Regions from separate parts of the Homo sapiens genome. Here regions 1, 2 and 4 are each linked to region 3. The links are contacts of gene promoters, found by promoter capture Hi-C in human tissues and cell types (Jung and others, 2019). All regions are on one chromosome and are shown on one strand. The core of a region is centred on a gene start or on the middle of the fragment in contact, and the rest is flanking DNA. Distances in the headings are between cores, read along the strand shown.

Region 1 (3,658 bases), core at 978-3,477, 100 kb before region 3:
CTCTCCCAGCCCCATTGCCCAGTGCTTCCTGTTCTCACCAGGCCATGTGCACACGCTGCCAGGGAGGCTTTTAAAGATGTTGGCCTCGGCCAGGCACGGTGGCTCATGCCTGTAATCCTAGCACTTTCGGAGGCCAAGGCAGGCGGATCACTTGAGGTCAGGAGTTCAAGACAAGCTTGGCCAACATGGTAAAACCCCATCTCTACTAAAAAATACAAAAAAACTTAGCTGGGTGTGGTGGTGGGCACCTGTAATCCCAGCTACTAGGGAGGCTGAGGCAGGAGAACTGCTTGAACCTGGGAGGCGGAGGTTGTAGTGACCTGAGATGGTGCCACTGCACTCCAGTCTGGGCTACAGAGCAAGACTCTGTCTTAGTGTATGCTTATTGTAACTTGGAACTAAAAAGCCCTTTCCATGGCCGTAGTGGCCCATGCCCTTTCCCATCTGCGTCTTGTACTCCACACCCCTCACCCACCGCCCTTCACCTTTCGCCAGGATTTTGTCTGAATGGATCTAGTCCCAGCTGCATACGTTCAGCATAGACAATGATTAAAACCTAGACTTCAGGGGTCTGTAGCTGGAGGCAAGTTGCTCTGTGAGCCTGTTTCCATACCTGTTCAATGAGCATAGGAAACGCCACCTCTGACAGATGTTTAAAGAATGTTAATGGGAAAGTCTCTTTCCCATTTAGGCTAAAACAAAAGTACCTCCTTAGTATACTTTATACTTTAAACCTTCCAGGGCACTTTCCCATTCGTTCTCTTATTTAAAGCTACTGAAATCTGGGCTGGGTGTGGTGGATCACTTGAGCCCAGGAGTTCAAGACCCGCCTGGGCAACATGGCGAAGCCCCATCTCTACTAAAAACACAAAAATTAGCCAGGCTTGGTGGCTCATGCCTGTAATCCCAGCTACTTGGGAGGCTGAGGCAGGAGAATTACTTAAACCTGGGAGGCAGAGGCTGCAGTGAGCCAAGATCGCACCCTGCACTCCAGCCTCAGTGACAGAGCGAGACTCCATCTCAAAATAAATAAATAAAACTATTGGTCGGGCGTGGTGGCTCATGCCTGTAATCCCAGCATTTTGGGAGGCTGAGGCAGGCGGATCACCTGAGGTCGGGAGTTCGAGACCAGCCTGACAAACATGGAGAAACCCCCGTCTCTACTAAAAATACAAAATTAGCTGGGCATGGTGGTACATGCCTGTAATCCTAGCTACTCGGGAAGCTGAGGCAGGGGAATCGCTTGAACCTGGGAGGCAGAGGTTGTGGTGAGCCAAGATCGTGCCATTGCACTCCAGCCTGGGCAACAAGAGCGAAACTCCATCTCAAAAAAAAAAAAAAAAAAAAACTATTGAAATCTGCATATGGTTGGGTGTGGTGGCTCACGCCTGTAATCCCAGCACTTTGGGAGGCTGAGGCTGGTGGATCACAAGGCCAGGAGTTCAAAACCAGCCTGACCAACATGGTGAAACCCCGTTTCTACTAAAAATACAAAAATTAGCTGGGCGTGGTGGTGCACACCTGTAATCCCAGCTACTCAGGAGGCTGAGGCAGGAGAATCACTTGAACCCAGGAGGTGGAGGTTGCACTGAGCTGAGATCACGCCATTGCACTGCAGCCTGGGCAACAGAGCGAGACTCCGTCTCAAAAAAAAAAAAAAAAGAAATCTGCATATGAAGCAGGGTGGGCGATGTGGTCTCCTTATCAAGCAGGAAGTGGCCTCAGAGAGGTTAAAGCCCTGTTCAAGGAGACACAGGGAATGGATAGTGAAACTGGGACTGCAATGACAGCTGCACTTGAACTTCTCCTGAAGGTGATGCTGCGGAGGGACCAGATGAAGACTCTGAGCCCCAAAGCCAGCCAGCATCTAAGGGACAGACCTCTGCTTTCAGGTCAGCCCCGACACGGCTGCCTGCTCAGGGAGGCCGACTTCCCTACAGCCCAATTCTGGGGCACTCACACATCTCTCAAATTCTTCAGTGTTCACCCTCTCCCTGGTCTTCTCCCATTGCACTTCTCCCGCCACTGACCTTGGCTTCTCCAGCCTTCCCTCCTCCAGTTTACAGCCCCAATTCACTGGGCAGTGTGGGGAGCTTGGGCCAAGGGTAGGATTTGGCTGTGGGGTGGGTGGGGTCACAGGGCAGCGAAAGCTTCACCAAACATCTTGCCCACTACCTCCACAGTCCAAGTCCGGGGATGCATTTCCTAAGGGGAGCCCAGTTCGGTATCTAAATCCTTCAAGGTGGGGAGCCAGAGGGAGAGGGGTGTTAAGATCTTTAACTTCCAGAATTCACATTCTTGCAATGAGCGGGACCCTGTCCGGCTAAGAAGCATCAGTACCACAGGAGGGAGTTTAAACAGGAAGAGGAGATTTTGCTTTGTGGTTGTGATTTTAATGCTCTCCCGGCTGGTTGGATGAGTGCCTACTTTCTGGGGCTGGGGTGGTAGGGTGGAGGTGAGAAGGTGGTGGGGGAAGAGAATAGGGAGGAAAGGAGAGTCCTCAAAAAAGTAGTGTAGCTGCATGGGAGAAAGCGATGTCTGAATCCTGTGAATCCCCTGGAGCTGCTTCCCAGCTGTTTGACCTTGTGAAATGGCCTAACTTCTCCCAACTTCCATTTCCTCATCTGTATAAAAGCAGGGACAATACTTCCTTTATTAAGCAAATATCTTCTGTCTGCCTACCGTATGCTTGACCCTGTGCAAATGAACAAGACAAACAGGAGACAGGATCTCTGCCGCCCTGGAGCTTATATTCCAGGAGGGAGACAAACAAGAAATACATCAACTATAAACAAACAAGATAATTTTGGATCATGCTAAGTGTTAGTCAAAAGCCGAAAGGGAGTGGGGAACATGGGACGGACAGGGAACTCCTCTCTGAGGACGTAGCCTCTGAACAGAGTCCTGGAAGCTGAGAAGTCAGTTCTGGAAATGGAGGAAGAGTGCTCCAGGCGCAGGGAACAGCAAGTGCAAAGGCCTTGAGATGGGAATGGGCTTGACGCGCTTGCAAAACAGGCAGTGGCCTGAAAATATAAAATGTGGTGAGCAAGCGGAGAAGTGGTTTGAGCAGAGGTGGGAGAAGTAGGCCAGAAACAGATCACACAGGGCTTTGGAGGCTATGCTGAGGGGTTTGGAAGGCTTTCGAGGGTAAGTTAAGCAGGAGAATGACATGATTAGGTATGTATTTGAAAAGATCACCACCATGAATTTTCTGAGCCTCATTTTCCCCCTCTGTTAAAAATGAGCATAATAATACATATCTCACAGGATTATAGAGGATTAAAAGACTTGAAAGTTAAAGCAACAAGCAAATTGATGAACATATATGCCCGAGGTGCACAACAAATGCCAGGACCATGATGTGAAGACTTTTTAGGAGCTCTGAAGAGATCTGCTTAGGAGTGAGGATGGTTCCTAAAGAGTTAATCAAACCTGTCTTGGGAAAAGCAATCCCATGCTGCTAATATAATGGTAAAGGATGCAATTCAGGCTGTTTATTTTTTAGAGATTCAGTGCTCCTATTAAGCAATCACTCTGTTTATGTCACTGCTAATTGAAGTAAATTGCTTTCTGCAATCAAATCGGGAAGTTCCCCCTTCCGATCACGAAAGGGACTTGGACTCTGGTTCCTGATTTCCAGTATTTAGTCTGACTTGAG
Region 2 (3,327 bases), core at 818-3,317, 89 kb after region 3:
CCAGCAAGGGATTGGAGGTCTAGGGAGGCTGTCACTTGCACAAGGTCACACAGCTGTAGTAAACTTCTGAGTTTGGACTTAGCCCCTCTGCTTCTAAAATCCCCTCTCTGAACCTCATACTCTCCAGCATCTCTTCTAGTTTTTTGCTGTTCTTTGCTACTCAGGCTGAGGCCCCGAATATAAGTAGATGTGTGTTAATAAGTGTCTGTGCATGCATGTACATATACACAGACATTTCCCCTGCTCTCTAGAGTCCCTTCTCCCAGACTGGAGAATGCTGAACTGAAGAGGACCTCAGGTATTGAGCACATAATCCTGACTCCTTATTAAACGGGATGGGAGGATCAGGCCAGCTTGGGGACCATCTGCTGTGTCCTGTGTGGCCTATCCCCAAGGGCTCTGGGCCATATTCTCCTGTAAATCCTCTGCCTTATTCTCATGGTTGCCTCTCCCCAACTCTCCTCCAGTTGCCCCTTTTGCCCAACTTCCAGCCACCTGGCTCTGCATGCTGTCAGTTCCATGCTTGGGTGGCAGTGGGTTTAGCCTGAGATGCCTGGACTTCACTCTCGCATTGCTTCTGTTATCCTCCAGCCTCTGTGCCCCATGGCCAGTGACTGAGACACGAGAAAAGGAGAAAAAGCCACATGTATAGGAAAGACCTAGGAGAAGAAATTTCTCTAAAGTCCCCTCTAGAGGAAAAGATATTTTTACCTCCACCCCAGTCACTCCCTCTCTTTTGTTGCCTTCTCTTCCCCTTTTATTCATAGCTGTAGGTGCCAGCCCAATCCACTTTTGTAACCCAAAAAGCAGACAAAGGCCTCTGCCCTTGCCTTCCCAGACACAGTCATGGTCTCATGATCTGCCAACCTAAGCAGGGCTGGCATGTGGGATTTAAGTAGCTCTGTCCAAGCTTTTACAGGAGTCTGCGCTTGGAATTGTCAGAGTGCAGAGCAGTGTTGTTCTAGATCCCTACCACCCACTTCAGAAAAACCAGATGTGCCTGCCACTCTAGGTTGACCTGACAGTTGTTTGCACGTGTGTGCATGTGTATGAGAGCAACTGACAGCGTATGTGCGTACCTAGTGGCCTGTGTGGGCCTCCTGAACATAGAACTAAGCACTCGCTTGCTGAGCCCTGTGGCTGCTTTTGGTAGAAAAGTGACCCCAGGGCCAGGAGCTGCACCTGGTAGAGACCAGGGTGGGAGATTGATGAGTTTGCAGGAGTGCTGCCTGGAAGGTCTGGGAGCGCTGGTCTGTGAGCTAAGCAGGGGTTGCTAAGCAGCATCGCCACCCCTAACCTCATGGCACGCTGGCTCCTGCCCTTGCCATCCTCTGAAGCAGGTAGTAGGGCTACATTTCCTAACAGGAAGCCCGTCAGGCTGAGAGAAGGGGAAAGAGAGAGGAGTAACTTGCTTTCCCCCTTGGACCTGAACTTCCTTAGCTCCTCAAAGCTTGGTCTGCTGTTGAGATCTCTGGTGTGCAGGGGTGAACAGCTACCCTCCCTAAACATGTGGTGGGTTATAGAGAGAACATTCCAGGACTACAGGTGACAGTCAGGTGCCTGCCAGAGAGGGGCTTTCCAAAGGACAGCTAAGTAAGGGAAATCCTATCTACCTTGTGAGTATATCTGGACTCTTTGCATTTGTCACCACTTCTGTTACCACTACCTTGGCCCAAGCCACCATTATCTTTTGCCTAGATTATTGCGGTCAGTTCCTAACTGCTTCTACTGCTGACCTGCCATTCTCAACATGGCAGTCAGAATGATCCTTCTAAAGTATTATCAAGCCAGGCACTGTAGCTCATGCCTCTAATCTCAGCACTGTTGGAAGGCCAAGGTGGGAAAATAGCTTGAACACAAAAATTTAAGACCAGCCCGAACAACATAGCGAGACCCTGTCTGTAAAAAAACTTTAAAAAAATAATCTAGGTGTGGTGGCACATGCCTGTAGTCGTAGCTACTTGGGAGGCTGAGGTGGGAGGCTTGAGCCGGGGAGGTTGAGGTTGCAGTGAGCCATGATTGCACCACTGAACTCCAGCTTGGGTGACAGAGTGAGAACCTGTCTCAAAAAAAAAAAAAAAAAAAAAAAGGATCAGTAGGTCCCGTCACTCTGCTCAAAATCCTTCAATGGCTGCACATGCCACTCAGAATAAAAGCCAGAGTCTTTAAAACGGCCTTATGAAGCTCGGCCTAAACTGGCCTGTTGCTGCTTTGACCTCACGTCCTGTCACCTGCCCTTTGCTCATTCTATTTCAGTTGTACTGCCCTCCTTGTTGTTGCTACAACATTCTAGACTTGTTACCTAGAATAATTTATTTGTTGTTCCCTTTGCCTAGAATACTTTCTCCCCTGCTACCTACAAGCCTTACTTTTACCTCTATATTAGGTCTTTGTTAAAGTGTCTCCACTCCATCTAAATTTTCATTCCTTTCACTACATTCCTTATCCCGCTCCCCTTCATTGCTTTCCTCCCGACCTCTTGTTGCCATCTGACTTACTAGTATTTTGCTTTTTTATGTTGTGGTTTCTGTTTAAAATGTAAGCTCCATGGAGGCAGGGATATTTGTTTATCTTCTTTACCGCTGTATCCCTGGCATTTAGGACAGTACCCTGTGCATAGGAGAGGCTAAGACATATTTTCAAATGAATAATAAATAAGTCCATATTGGTGAATCATTTAAGATTCAATTTAGAAATAATGAACCTTCAAATCCATGAACATGGTAAACCTCTACACTTGGCTAGATCTTTATTAATCTTTTAGCCATAGTTTGTAGTTTTCAGTGTACAAGCTATGCATATTTCTGTTAAACTTATAGATAAGTATTTTAAGTTTTTAAAAATGCTATCACAAATGGTATTTTAAATTTCACATTCCAGTTGTTTATTGCTGATCTGTAGAAATGCAGTTTACTGTTGCATATTATTTTGACTTTGTATTCTGCAACTTTGCTAAATTTACTTATTAGTTCTGGTAATTTTTTGGTAGATTCCATAGGATTTTCTACATATACAATAATGTAGTCTCCAAATGAGGAGTTTGACTTTTCTTCTAATTTTTATGATTTTTATTTCCTTCTGTGGTTTTATTTCCCTGGCCTGGAATCTAGTACAATGTTGAATAGAAGTGGTGAGAGTGGACATTTTTGCCTTATTCCTATATATAGGCAAGTGCTTTCTCTCTCTCTCATCTGTCTCTATTTCTCTCTCTCTGCGTGTGTGTGTGTGTGTGTGTGTCCATTACTCTTTAGCAAATTTACAGTTGCCTGCACTTACCTAAGCCAAGCTCACAAAGGTTTTTCTCCTATGTTTTTTTTCTAAAAGTGT
Region 3 (3,744 bases), core at 988-3,487:
CTACTAAAATCCCCACCCTACACCCGTACTGGCCACATGGCGTGGTTGGTAAGTGTGTGTGCTGTTCACCACATTAGGATTTGCTGGAGCCTCGCAGCACGTGAGAACCCTCCCAAGAGATGGGAAAGAGGAAATGTGATTTCACACTGGACATCTCCACTAGTTCTTTCCCACCCTTCTGGGAGACAGAGAGGGAGAGAGAAAGAGAAATCTTTAACTGCAGCCCTGCCTCTCCTAGCTCTCCTGACACCCGCCCTAAAAAAAAAAAAAAAAAGGCTGAAAATTTCAGAGATGTTTATGCTCCATTTGTGTGAAGATCTGGAGAACTCCAAACATTGTGAAATCCACCAGTGCAATATTGGGTAGGGCCTCAGGCCAGACTGAGCTCATTAAGAGATTGATAAACCCGCAGTTCCCAACTTCTCTGAGCCTTATACCTTCCAGCTTTGAATCCCGAGAGACTTGTCAGGGAGGTTAGTGCCTCGGTCAGCTACAGACACAGACGAGTGCTTGCTCCCGCCCCTCTGCAAGTTCTTTGGCCTCCAGTGTGTCTGGCCTCTCCCAAAACTGGAGAGAATCACGCCACTGATTTGGAGGCAGGAAAGAAGGGGATGCCACTAGGTTTGGGCACCCCACTGTACACTCTTCTTTCCAGCACTAACCGCGCTGGGGGGTACGGAAGCCTTGCTGCGCCAGAAGGCGGCCTCCTGCCCTCACAGAGGCCTTGGCAATATGGATGCCCCTCCAGCAGCTGGTGAAAGAGGCAGCCAGCAGCTCCCTACTCTGCCTACCATCTAGCCCCTCCAGCCCATTTCGCCTCTCTTGCCCATCCTTCAGCCCTATAAGCCACGCAACCATTTTCTGTCTCCCCTGCCTCTCCTGCCCACAACCCCCTGCCCCCAATCAAGGAGAATTGAGAAACCGTCTTCTTGCACAAGAGCAGCTACTGTCTAAATGCTTTTTGATCGTCTGCATGGAGGGGGAACTGGGCACAGCCCTGGACCCAGTGATGGAGCCAAGCTCTAGCTGCCCTGGCTAGCCAAACCCGCCCTCACCCAGCTCACTGTCCCCGGGGTCTTGGCGATTCAGAATTTGTCAGAACATACCGTCTCTATCCTCTTCTCTGTGATGTCAAGCCTGGTACCACCAAGAAGGAAGGAGGGAAAGCAGGAGCCTTATCTCTCCTACATTCGCAACCTCTTCCTCCAGCTCCCACACGCCTGGTGTTATGTAAACGCACCTTCAACCCCCACCGCAGCCCTAGCGCGGCCTGGGGGCTCCGGGGCCTGGCACAGCTCGGTGCCCGAGGATAGGGAGGTACAGGGTGGCCGAGGAGCCTCAGGCCTTACAGAGGCCAGGCAAGAAAAAGTCAACTGCAAGGCAGTTGCATAGCATAAAATGCGGCAGCGGAGCAAAGGTCAGACGGCGAGGAACCGCCTCGCCAAGGAGAGGGAGTAGGAATGCCCAGTCCTGAGCCAGCCCCTCGCTGACCATCGAGGGAGAGGCAGAAGGGGAGGGAATTCAGTCCGTCACGGCTCCGAAGAGAAAGAAAAAATCTACGTCGAGCATAGGCCGCTACGGCGGGCTGGGAGATACACGGCAAAGCTGGCACCGTGGGCACCGAGCTGGGAGGTGGGCGAGCCGCCCAGAGCGAGGGCGCCCCCCGACCCAAACGGTGGCTCCTGACCAAGCCCAGAGACGCCCGTTCCAGCGTTCGAGGCGGATGGTGGCAGGAGAAGGAAAGAGGCCAGGCCAGAGGCAAACTCCCGGGACACGCACGGGGCTTCCCGAGTCTCAGAGGGCGGGGAAGCCGGGCTTGGCAATGCCCAGGGGTCGGAAACGGCGGTGCCAGGCTGTGAACACCCCCGGCGCCGTGCCGGCCGGGCCGAGGGCGTCAGGGAGCTGCGGCGCACCGCAGCGACTCAAGGAGGCGCAGGCTGAGGGAAGGAACACTGAGGCGCGCCTAGAAATAGCGCACCATTTGCCCCAGCCCAAGGGGGGAGTCGCGTCGCGGCTCAGAGAGGGGCAGTTTCAGATCTCCAAACCAGCCATGGACTTACTTTGAGGAGCTGCAGGGTCACAAGCATCGCCCCACGTCTGTGTAAATCCTGAAGCCGGGGCAGGTTAGCCGCCGCTGTACTCGCAGACGCCGGTCGGAGGAACCGGCAAGGCTCCCTGCGCTCCACAGCGCCAGCTCCGCGCTGTCAGCTCAGCTCGCTACCTCCGCGGCGATGTTGCAACCACTGCCTGGGAAAATGGCTTTTTTATGAATGGGAGGGAAGGGAGCGCCAGTGCGCACGCGTGCCGTTCGCGATTCTATGAATGGGTGGGCACAACAGACCCTGAGCGCGCATGCGCTCCGCTCCTTTTTTTATGAATGGGGGGCGGGAAAAGATCTTAACCCGTGATTGCTGGGACTGGCTCAAGCTCCACCAGGAGCCGTCGTTCTTTTACAAAGAGGGGTGGAGGTTCCAGTGGAGGCTGTTGTTGCCTTTTTTTTTTTTTTTTTAATGAATGGAGGGCGGCGGCGACTGCTGCAGCTGGGCCAGCTGCGCGGGCTGCACCCCCTCCCAGCCTGCGAGAGGAGGTAAAGGCCACCTTCACGCCACTGCGGGCCTGGGCAGGAACCGTCAGTGTCGCTGGGGGGTGGGGGACGCTGCGGCCTCCGGATCCCGGGTTGAGAGCAGGGTGGTGGAGGGCACACCTAGATCTGGGGATCTCTGCCCCCCGCAGGCAGTCAAAAGGGGGGGCGGGAGGACCCCTACTGGGGGCCTTCTCTTGCTCTAGACCAGAGACGCCAGGCGGGAGGGGTCTTGAAGCTGCGTTTACCAAAAATTAGGAAAATGTCCATCATTCATATCAAAGGGTGGGGTGAGGATTGGTGAGTGAATCTGGTTCTTTTTCCTGAGGCTGAATCTCTCGTGAGTGCTGGCCGCCCCTCCCCCCATTTCTTGGGTGTAGACAGTGACTGGGCCCAGGCCTCTTCCGGCTCCAGTACCCCCCGGGGCGATTCTGGCAACTCAGCCAGAGGAAGCCTGGCCCTCGCCTCCCAGCGTTCCCCCCGCCCCCCGCCCCAGTGCAATGTCCGCAGTGCCCGGGCGTCTGCCCGCTCTCTGTCGCCCTAGCTAGGTGTCCTTTCTCTGTCCCAGTCGGTTTCCCAGCCCTCACAGGACGCTGGCCTGAGGAGCCTCGGTCCACCGAAGGCCCACGGCCCTTCGCTGTTGTAGGCGCCTTTCCCCAATATCCCCCACCTCTCACCGGCCTCCCCTCCGGGGAAGTGGGAGCGGCCGAGAACTGGCCAGGTGGATGGGTGGAGCCGGCTGCGCCGAGGATGCTGCCGGGGTGGCCTCAGGATTAAATAACAACGGGGCTCTTGAGCCGCAGAGGAAATGGAAATGGCTGGGGATCCTTTCTTCGCTGTTAATGATGGTGGCGTTGGGGGGCGGGGGTGAGGATCAGCTCAAGCCGGTGAAAAGAAAAGCCCCCGCCATTAGGCCTGACTCCAGGAAGGCGGGGAGCCCTCGCAGCAGGCCCTGCTCCTCCCTGGAACGGAGGAGCCTGTAGCCTCCGGGAAGTCCGGGGCGGGGGGTGGCTTTGATGCGTGGATAAGAGCAGAGTCTGGGCCAGGGCTTGGCCCTGAGTCCCTTGTAAGGTCTGTCTTGCCGCTGTTCTGGCCGCACGGGGAGATTGTGTGGCAGTCTTTTTCTTCCTACGCCACTATAGGATTGTGCTTGGCTGTTGTCA
Region 4 (3,522 bases), core at 1,015-3,514, 73 kb after region 3:
AAGCTAATTTGTCTTTTCTTTTCCCTAAGTGCTCTACCACTCCAATCCTTCCCACACTCCACTGCAGCATTGGTCTCTGGTGTTGGCAGTGGCATAATCCACAAACCTTCTTATTTAGACACAGTTACCTTTTGTTTTGAGGGGACAGGGGAAGAGGTGTGAAGTGTTTCTCTGGGGCCTGACTGGTGTTAGGTGTTACTTGTGCTAGGTGTTACTTGTGACAACATCATGCCGTGTGACCCTCGATGACAGAGGTGCCCACGTGTTGTTTAACTTTTACGCATGTGTTTGAAATAGGTGGGACCCTGAAGCACAGGGCCCAGGGCAGGGGCCTCTCTTGTCTGGTTCTAAGGGCAGTACTCTTGTTTTCCAGAAACCCTCAGTAGGCTTCCTTTTACATTTCATTAGATAGAATTAATCACTGCCAGAAAGAAGGTAAATTTCTGTAACTTCCTTCTGCCAATCATGAGTCATTCTCTGGGATGAGCACATGGTCTCTGGACAAAATTGGGGTTCTGTTAGTGAGGAAGAAGAAATGGCTGGACAGTCAACCAGTGATATCTCCACAATTATTATTCCCATTTTTTTGAAGGGGAAATTGAAGCTTAGAATGGTTAAGGTTGTATACCTGGAAGTGGTGGAACTGTGGTTTGAACCAAGGAAGGTTGGCTAAGGAATCTAACTTAACCACTCTACTTGCTGTTTCCCATGGCTGAGGAGCAGGAGTTAGCTGTACTGGAGTTTGAGAAAATCCCAGGCAGAGGAAATAGCATGTGCTGCAGCCCAGAGAAGCAAGGGGTGGCATGGTCTCACTGCAGATTGAGAGATGCCGAGTGACTCAAGTCTGTTGTGTGAGGGGAGTGCTGGGAGATGAGGCTGGAGAGGGTGTGCATCTGGGGCTGCTGAGTGGAGATGGGAGGGGACAAGATTGGGAATGGCATGGGCTGGAAGACTGTTGAAAGATTTTACTAGGGAAGAGATCCAGGTAACCTGAAATAGGAGAGGCAGAAGGGAAGGCATGCAATCAAGAGAGATTTAGAAAGCAGAATTGGGATTTGATGATATGAAGGTGGAGGAGAATCACCTGAGTTTATGGCTTGGAAATGGGTTACCATTCAGAAACAGAAGGCAGTGTTACCAGTGGAAGGTCTTGACCATGAGTTGTCCAGGTTCTTGGCATTTTGAACAAAGAATTGGACAACACACACAAAGCAATGAAAGAATGAAGCAATGAAAGCACAGATTTATTGAAATGCAAGTACACTCCACAGAGTGGGAGTGGGCTGGAGCAAGCCCTGGTTACAGAATTTTCTGGGGTTTAAATACTCTCTAGAGGTTTCCCATCGGTTACTTGGCTACAACCTATGTCAATGAAGACTTGGTCCATGACCAGTCTGTTTGGTTGTGGGAGGTGACCAATTAGAGGCTGAAGTGAAGTTACAGAGTTACAACCTATGCAAATGAAGACTTGGCCAGGGACCAGTCTGATTGGTTGTGGGAGGGGACCAATCAGAGGTGCTTTCCATTTTTCATTTGCAATGCAGAAAGGGGGTGGGGTTGCAAAAGGAGTAGCCTCTGATCCTTTTGTTACTTGGGCGTAGAGAGGTAAGATTTTCCTTTTGATTCAGTTCTAGGAAGTCAGCACAAATCAGCCTTAGGTTCCCTACCTTCAGACCCTATTCTCCTGCCTTAACAGTACCAGGTGAGGGCATAGGGGAGAAGGAGTCCACTTTTTATTTTTTGAGTCTCATTTTGGACATGTTGAGTTCAAGGACATAGAGTGGAGCTGTCCTGTAAACATTAGAGTCTGAAACTCAGGAGAGACATCTGGACTAGAGAGAAATGTGGGCTGCTTCAACACGTAGAACCCCTGGGTTCCATGGTGGGTGAGAGTGTGTAACACATGAAAAGAGAGTCTAGGACAGAGCCGTGTTTAAGGAAAGGAGGCCCACAGAGGAAACCGAGAAGACATGCCTCACATAGAAGAAGCCAGGAGAATTTGGTGACACTAACACTGAGGAAAGGGAGTTTTAAGCAGGAAAGAAAGATAAGGCCTGAGAAGTACCACAAAGGTCATTGATGATGACAGCAAGAGTGTGACAGCCAGATAACAGAAGGTTGATGGGAATGTAGCTCCTTCATTCAAGATATTAAATATGAAGGGAAGGGTATGTGAGGATCCAGGAAAGCTTTTTTTTTAAAAAAAACAAAACAAAACAAAACAAAAACCATGCAGGAAGATTGGAGCATGTTAAATTGCTTCTGAGAGGTAGACTTCTGGTAGAACAGAAGTTGAAGATAGAGACGAGGTGGGTAGTGGAAAGTGTGAGGACCTGAGAAGGTGGGGAAGAGTATGGGATCCTGACTCAGATAGAAAGAGGACTCCCATTGGAACAGGTAGAGTAGAGACCAGGAGAATGGGTGGGACTGGGACATTGAGGAACTTCCTTTAAGATGGTTTGTTTCCTATATAAAGTAGCTGCAAGAGAGGGAGTGGTGGGTCAGATGTTTAGGGAAGTTGAATTGCAATTGTCTCCTGTAAGGACAGGAGAGCTGAGTGGGGAGCAGGGCTGGCTTCATGAGTGGGCAGCTTGAGCAGTCGCACGGGTCCCTACACTTAAAAGGGCTTCTTGCTTTGTATAATGCTCTGGCATCACTGTCTTGAAATTGTTAATGATTTTTGAACACAGGCCGCTTCATTTTCATATTTGTTTTGAGTGTAAGTGTGTCCCATGCAATATCTGGGACATACTGAGATTAACAGTTACTCACAGCTGGGCACGGTAGCTCACGCCCGTAATCCCAGCACTTTGGGAGGCCAAGGTGGGTGGATCCCCTGAGGTCAGGAGTTTGAGACCAGCCTGGCCAACATAGCGAAACCCCATCTCTACTAAAAATACAAAAAAATAGCTGGGCGTGGTGGCGGGCGCCTGTAATCCCAGCTACTCAGGAGGCTGAGGCAGGAGAATCGCTTGAACCCAGGACACAGAGGCTGCAGTGAGCTGAAATCGTGCCATTGCACTTCAGCCTGGGCAACAAGAGCAAAACTCAGTTTCAAACAAACAAACCAATTACTCTTTATCTGGAATTCCAATTCGGTATCCTGTATTTTATCTGGCAACCCTAACTGGGCGCTACAAATTATGTAGCTGGTGCTGCTGGGAAGACAGGAGAATTGCAAAGTGGTGTCACAGGCCCTGGGGAGGTTTCCTCTGTGAAGTATCTGAGAGTGGGGAAGTGATGGGTGTAGAGATTGGACTTGTGGCTCTAAGTTGTGGGGCTGTGGAATGGTCTCCAGCAGGGCCAGCCACCTGAATGTCTAGACAGTGCAGGAAAGGCAGGTGGCTTAGAATATCTGGGTTGTCTCCAGATATCTCACTTGGGTGAGACCGAAAGCCCTTACCTTGGTTGGTGAGGCCCTGCCGTCCCTCTCACCCTTGCATATAGCAGCCCGCTGCTCTGCTGGCTCTTCTGCAAACACCCTTTGCTCCCTTAGTCTCAGGGCCTCTGCTCTGGCGGTTC

Evidence for each region. Contacts are between HindIII fragments. The study calls those that stand out against the background at their distance.
Region 1: a contact is called between a fragment that was not itself captured here and the fragment with the promoter of SPRY4 in region 3, in 5 of the 25 tissues and cell types used here (IMR-90 fibroblasts, adrenal gland, aorta and 2 more).
Region 2: a fragment that was not itself captured here is called in contact with the fragment with the promoter of SPRY4 in region 3 in 3 of the 25 tissues and cell types used here (bladder, heart right ventricle and stomach).
Region 4: a fragment that was not itself captured here is called in contact with the fragment with the promoter of SPRY4 in region 3 in 2 of the 25 tissues and cell types used here (IMR-90 fibroblasts and heart right ventricle).

What each region holds. Positions count from the first base shown.
Region 1 is chr5:142,218,747-142,222,404 of GRCh38, forward strand. No RefSeq gene overlaps it. Among named protein-coding and RNA genes, the nearest start is that of SPRY4-IT1, 98 kb to the right of the region's middle. The HindIII fragment of the contact is 6,422 bases long and covers 1-3,658 here.
Region 2 is chr5:142,411,846-142,415,172 of GRCh38, forward strand. All of the region lies in intron 3 of SPRY4-AS1 (SPRY4 antisense RNA 1), which reads left to right. Among named protein-coding and RNA genes, the nearest start is that of SPRY4-AS1, 88 kb to the left of the region's middle. The HindIII fragment of the contact is 6,109 bases long and covers 1-3,327 here.
Region 3 is chr5:142,322,784-142,326,527 of GRCh38, forward strand. SPRY4 (sprouty RTK signaling antagonist 4) reads right to left here and starts at 2,238. Exons shown (of 2, transcript NM_001127496.3): 1 at 2,061-2,238. SPRY4-AS1 (SPRY4 antisense RNA 1) reads left to right here and starts at 2,510. Exons shown (of 4, transcript NR_120664.1): 1 at 2,510-2,587. RefSeq lists enhancers at 236-1,200, 1,201-2,163, 1,645-1,704. The HindIII fragment of the contact is 10,639 bases long and covers 1-3,744 here.
Region 4 is chr5:142,395,336-142,398,857 of GRCh38, forward strand. All of the region lies in intron 3 of SPRY4-AS1 (SPRY4 antisense RNA 1), which reads left to right. Among named protein-coding and RNA genes, the nearest start is that of SPRY4-AS1, 72 kb to the left of the region's middle. RefSeq lists a silencer at 1,909-2,203. The HindIII fragment of the contact is 4,654 bases long and covers 1-3,522 here.